2 separate regions of the Homo sapiens genome follow, and region 2 is linked to region 1. The links are contacts of gene promoters, found by promoter capture Hi-C in blood cells and fetal thymus (Javierre and others, 2016). All regions are on one chromosome and are shown on one strand. The core of a region is centred on a gene start or on the middle of the fragment in contact, and the rest is flanking DNA. Distances in the headings are between cores, read along the strand shown.

The links. Contacts are between HindIII fragments. The CHiCAGO score rates a contact against its expected background, and 5 or more counts as called.
Region 2: a fragment that was not itself captured here is called in contact with the fragment with the promoter of CAB39 in region 1 in 1 of 17 cell types (activated CD4 T cells); the score reaches 5.0 in activated CD4 T cells.

What each region holds. Positions count from the first base shown.
Region 1 is chr2:230,711,071-230,714,268 of GRCh38, reverse strand. CAB39 (calcium binding protein 39) reads right to left here and starts at 1,427. Exons shown (of 9, transcript NM_016289.4): 1 at 1,039-1,427. LOC124907996 (formin-like protein 16) reads left to right here and starts at 943. Exons shown (of 4, transcript XM_047446832.1): 1 at 943-2,190. The coding sequence starts at 943. The coding sequence ends at 1,701. RefSeq lists a silencer at 716-1,655. The HindIII fragment of the contact is 1,861 bases long and covers 1-1,698 here.
Region 2 is chr2:230,468,862-230,472,059 of GRCh38, reverse strand. It overlaps SP100 (SP100 nuclear antigen), which reads right to left. Exons shown (of 29, transcript NM_001080391.2): 14 at 2,964-3,017; 15 at 1,962-2,045. The region is part of intron 3 of LOC101928816 (a long non-coding RNA gene); the gene reads left to right. Among named protein-coding and RNA genes, the nearest start is that of SP100, 54 kb to the right of the region's middle. The HindIII fragment of the contact is 955 bases long and covers 1,184-2,138 here.

The DNA.
Region 1 (3,198 bases), core at 178-2,677:
CCTACATTTCCGGGCTCATGAGTCACTGAGAAATGAGCTCTAAGTTTCTCTTAGAATGCTGCTCAAATAGCTCCTCTACAGCATTCAAGGATCTGGCCCCAAAATACCTCTTTAGCCCAATACCCCCCGCCCCCTGCACCATGCCAACAAACGGAATTATCCATGATTTCTAGGCTTTGTCTTCTCGCTTTTGCTACCCCTTCCACACACCTCTTCTGCAATCCTCCTCTCCTAAATCCCATCAGGCCTTCAAGACTCTGCTCAGCATCCCCCGCCCAGGAAGCCTTCCAGGTTTCTGCGAGGCAGAAGTGATCGGTTCGGTTTTTCCGGGTGCCGTTCTAGCACTCCGTCGTTCTTTCACAGGACTTATCACCTCCTTCCCGGTATCGCAGTTATTTGTGTTCTCGTCTTATCTCTCACACCAGAGCCTAAGCTCCTCGGGGGAGGGGACCGGGGCCCGCTTCACCTTTGAATCCCTCCGGTGCGGGCCGACTACGGCGCCTGCACGCAGTCTGCGCTTGGGGTGGTTCCATTGAACTCCAGAACGCTCCGACCGCCCAATTCCTAACCAGAAATCAGTTAGGCATTTTCCTGAATTGGTCACAAAGCTGGTATCTGCCTCCCGACAACAGGAAGTTTACCAGGGGCGGGAGCGAGGCGCTGAAGCCCGGGTGCAGCCGGTGACAGTTGACCCGGCCCGCACTTCCCCGCCCGCCCGACTCCGGCCCGGACCACCACGCGCCGCCAGCCCCGCCAGAGAACCACGGGGGGAGAGGCAGGAGCGCCTGGACTGCAGGCCCCCGGGCGCCCCACGCCGGCGAAGGCAAAGGGAGCGTCTCAGCGAGGGACCGGAGCCGAGCCGGGCGGAGAGGGCAGGCTGGGCCCGGCTGCTCCCGGGGGCTCCGGGGACAAGCTGGGCCGGGGCCGCCGCCACCCAGGAAAATGGAGGCAGCCCCGGGGCCGGTGAGGGCCCAGCGGGGCAGGCGGAAGCCGGGCAGGCGTCCGCACCACGAGCAGGGCCGGCCGGGGGTCACTCACGGGGCTGGGCCGGGCGTTCCCTTCTCTGCCTCCGCGTCGTCGCTGTCCCCGTCCTCGGCCGCCGCCGCTTCGGGCTGCTCGTTCGGTCCCCGCGGAGTGGCTCGGACGCTCGGCCCCTCCGTTGTCTTCCGCCCGCTCCTGCTCCCGGCGACGGGCTCCCGCGGCGGCGGCGGCTGCGCGGGCGGACGGCTGCCCAGGGGCTCCCGCGGCTGCCGCCGCGCTGCTGCGCTCGCTTGGGCTGCGGCTGCTGCTGTGGGGCCCGGCGCCGCCTTAGTCTTCGCCTGTGCCCCCGCCCCGGCGCCTGAAGGCTCTGTGTCTCCCAGGCCGCGCCGCTCCCCGAACCCCTCGCCCCGCTTGCGGCCCGAGCCCGGCTTTGACGTGCGCACTGCGCAGCCGCCGAGGACGCGACGTCGGGCGGTGCCGCAACGCCCCCTTCCGCCTCGGGCGCCCCCGAGCGGCCGGCGGACTCAGGGCGCCGCAAGTAGGCGCGAGGCCCGAGCGGGAGGGGCCGCAGAGAAAAGCAGAAGCCAAGCCCCGCAGTTCCTCTTCCTCCGCCGCAGCTTCCAAGGCGGGGCTCAGCCCTTTCTCCTCCGCCTGAGCGCTCTTACTGCGGGAATCGCACGCCCACTTTCAACGACCACTTCCTCAACTCTTCAAGCTTAATTCTGCGAGAGGCCGGGATCCCACTTTGTGCAGACCGATTCTTACTTTCTTGGAGCAGATCGCTTCATTTTAGCATCCAGGGGGACACAGCATCCAGGGGGACAAGTGCCAGAACGTTCCAGATTAATGGGAATATTCCTATTTAAATCAGCAACCTGGATTTAAGTCCTGCTCCACCATTTGCTATCTATGGGCTGTTTCACGTCCCTGTGCCTGGATTTCCTCACACATTAAAAAAAAAAGTGTGTAATAATATAGTGGTACCAGCCACGGGCTTCTGAGGATGAACGGGACAGTGCATTGCAAAGCTCTGACAACGGAGCCTGGCACATACAAATGCCATATGTGTGTATTTTTGTTTCTTTGTTTTTAATGTGTAACTGAACTACTTTTTAAGCGCCTCCTGTACGTCAGGGATGGGGCAGTGAGCGAAACAGTCCATGCTCCTAGCACAAACAGTTGACAAATAATTGACTAATAAACCTACAGGTATGTATAATACTGGACAATTGGGCCAGGCGCGGTGGCTCACGCCTGTAATCCCAGCACTTTGGGAGGCCGAGGTGGGCGGATCACGAGGTCAGGAGTTCAAGACCAGCCTGGCCAACACCGTGAAACCCCATCTCTACTAAAAATACAAAAAACAATTAGCCGGGCGTGGTGGCGGGCGTCTGTATTCCCAGGTACTTAGGAGGCTGAGGCAGGAGAATCGCTTGAACCCGGGAGGCGGAGGTTACAGTGAGCCGAGATCGCGCCACTGCACTCCAGCCTGGGCGACGCAGCGAGACTATCTCCAAAAAACAAAAACAAAACAAACAAAAAACAACAACAAAAAAACAAATACTGGACAGTTAAAAACACCACTGGGTGAGGAGGGGAGAGAAAGCAGGGTGTTGTTATTTACAGTGTTCATTCAGGGAGCAGCTTCCTGGAGAGAGAGAGCCTGGGAGCTTTCTGTATGGAAAGGCAGAGGGAATAGCAGGACCAAGGCCCTGAGGCGAGAATCTGCTGGCTTGAAAGCGGCCCCAGATAGGGGAAGAGATGAGGAAGAAGTGCGGCCCTACCAACCAAAGTTAGGACTTCCTGTTTTTACTCTCAAGGAGATGGGAAGCAATTTGAAGGGTTGCGAGCAGAGAAAGGACGTGGAATGACATTTCAGGAGGATCCCTGTGGCTGTGGTATGAGGACCAGACTGAAAGCCCTGAGGGTTTCAGCAGGGGGACCAGCGAGAAGCCTGTTGAAATCAGCCAGCCAAAAGATAAGACTGTCCGGCCGGGCGTGGTGGCTCGCACCTGTAACCCCAGCACTTTGGAAGGCCGAAGCAGGGGGATCACCTGAGGTCAGGAGTTCGAGACCAGTCTGACCAGTATGTTGAAACCCCGTCTCTACTACAAATACAAAAATAACCCCAGCTACTTGGGAGGCTGAGGCTGGAGAATTGCTTGAACCCGGGAGGCGGAGGTTGCAGTGAGCCGAAATCGCGCCACTGCACTCCAG
Region 2 (3,198 bases), core at 412-2,911, 240 kb after region 1:
TATTACTTTCATCACCAAATGCCTGCTGTTAGGACACTGACCACATAGCCATCTCTATTACCTTTGTCTGTTCTTTATGAGCTTTCTACCTTGCAAGGCTGTCAATCAATCAGCAACTTTATTTTCACGTTTCTGGTACAATTTCTGAGAAGTGTGTTGAAAATTATCCCTCCCTCCCCCACAAAATTCCCCTACCTGGAATATTTGAATTCCTTGTCCACTTAGAAAAACTTGAAGCTGACTCTTATATCTTTTCATTTGGTGACTCTAGCCTACCTTTCTCCATTCTTTCTCCTTACTTTATCCACTCAGTGTCTCCTCCCTCCATTCAGGAGCCCAGCTCTTCTTTTTCTTTTCGCTCCCTCAAACCTGTCGCAAGCAGCCCGAGTCTGTGCACAAGTCTTTGTGTGTGTGGTGTGTATGTGTGTGTGCATATGTTTTGGGGGAGAGGTAAGGAAAAGAAAAAAGAACTTTTCCTCCATGCAAGTAGGAAAAAAAAGATAATTAATAATGAACTGAACATCATAATCGGCTTCTCCATCACAAGCTAATGGGCTGCATCTCTTCTGACTCTCTTTGTGTATTCATTGGAGGAGCTCTAAATTCACAGGACAATGAAGACAAACAAGGAAATAATAGACTATAGACAGTGACGAGGAAACCAGGGAACCTGTCTCAATGTGGTCATGCTGAACTATTTTCAGAGCTTAAACGGACTGACAAAAAAATACACCTATATCAATGAGTACACCTCATAGCCCTACTCTATCTGGCCACACTTCGTTCTCCTTCTCACTTCTCATTTTTCTGCCCATTGCCCTGCTGCTATACATTTTTGTCTCTGTCTCTTTGATTCGGTGAGCTCATCTCCCTTTGATTTATCTTGTCTCCTGTGTTGCTTTTTCTGTTTCCATCAATGATGTTCTGTTCTCCTTTATTTCTATGTTTATCTATTTTGCTTCTGTCTTTCTAGGTATTTTGTATATTATATAGCTGGTTCCATTCCTATTATCTCTGTCTGTTTGCGATTTTTATTTTTCCCTCCCCCTAAAGATTATATGTATTAACCAATATACATATATACACACACATATGTGTGTGTTTATGTATGTATACATGTTATATGTAACAAATATATGCATGTGTACACACACACACACACACAGTGGTTGTTAAATAAGCTTTCTTGCATCAGGCACTGGTATAGTCTCCTGTGAATATTCTGAGTTCCTTGCGCATCTTCTTTGGACTTTGACTTAAATGACACAGCTCTTATCCTCCTGTCTGTTACATACAACAGTCACCCACCGTGAGACACCTGGGTTGCTAGTTTCTATTGTTTCTTTAGTTTTTTGGCCCTAATACTTCTGTACATCTATTTCCTCACCCCAAAATGGGTATAGTTAGCCTGCCTATGTCTTAAAAATTTTGTGATGACAAAATAAGATATTATTTGCCAAAAGACATTGAAATAACACAATATAATCCAATTACATGATGAAGGACATCTACCAAAAACTATACTAACGTTTGAGAGTGTTTGATCTGAAGTTTTTATTTCTGTCTATAATTACATAGTAGGAACAGTTGTCTTTTGAGGCTTTACAATTACAAATGACAATGATGTCAACCCATTTATCACTATAAAAATCTAAGATCTTAGTGTTAATAGGAATGAGAGCAGGTTTAAAAAAAAGAATACCACAAATTTGCTATTTATTTCTTCTACAACAACAAAATATAATTACATACATTTAGTCAGTGAAACTCTTTCTGTTAAACATGAGTTTATCATAATTTCCTGCCTCTTTCCATTTTCTAAAATGCAAAAAGGAGTTCCCAGATGAACTGGATACAAGGTAGTGAAGGTGCTCAGAATAAAAAGCGTCTGGAAACAGCAGCTTTTAATTCACATTCCTGACATTCTGCAGGCCAAGTCTTGGCATCCTAATCTTCTTTACCTGACCCTCTTCTTAGGGATGAGCTGCAGGTTTCCTGAAGCTCTTCTCCATTACTCAGGTCTGAAAAGTCACTACTGCTGAAACCTGCAGAAAAAAATAAAATTCCTTAACAGTCTTAGTCTGAGTCTTAGGAATCAGCAGGGAATTCTTTAAAAGCAAAACTGAACAAGAGAAGCTTGTGGAGGAGGGGGAGAAATAGTCCCACCACTAGGCCACCCTTTGGCTTTGATCATCTGACCTGTTGGTCAAGATTGCTCCAGGAGCCCTCTCTGAGGCTGGGGCTGGGGATGACATTGTTTCTTCTTCTTTTTTTTTTTTAACTTTGGGAAAAATATGTATTTATTATAAATCATCCATTTCATTGGGTGGTTTCAAATTAAGAAAGCAATATATGCTTGTCATAAGAAGACCAATGAATGCAAATGTATATAACCCCAAAGCTCTCTTTTCCTACCCTATTCTGTCTCTGGTCTCCCAGCTAGTGAAGTCAACAGATCAGTGTGGATCCTTCCATCGTTTTCTCCTATCTCATTCATGCATAATCAAATAAAAGGAACATACATAATGTTCAATCTTTTCTGAATACAATCCTAGGACAACGTTGTTTCTTACGCTTCTTAGGCTTTCATTATTAGTTTGCACATACTTCTGCTTCCATCTCAGTTTCTTATCCAAGGGAACCATGGAAGCAACATCTTAAAGATGTCAGAGCCCCCATCAGCTGGGCCCTGAATGACTGTGTGGGCACCCCCTCTACTCAGGAACTACTTTATCCTATTTATGTGAGTGAAAAATAAACTTATGTTGCACTTGTGCCTTTGAACATTTTGAGGCTTATGTTTTATACCAGCCCAACTCATCTAATTGAAAATGTAAAATGCAAATCATCTAAAATCCCAACAAATTAATTTTTTATTTTAAAGGATATAACATAAAAAGTGAATGTAGCTTTTGCAGCAAATAAAGACATTTGTTACATCAAGAGTTTTTAATTGCTCTTACGTCTCTTCCTGCTGGGTATTCTCCAAGTAGATGTACTTCTAGAAGTCATAGGAGCTAGAAAGTAAAGGAAAACCAAATCAATAATATCTAACTAAAAGATCTATAAATCTTATGACTGCTTACACTGTTGACAGAATTTGGACTATAAATATTCTATGAGGATCATTTCTGTCTCTTCCCATCTAAGGGAAAGAGATTACTATCAAATGGAGCACAGACCCACAATCCTTTAGCC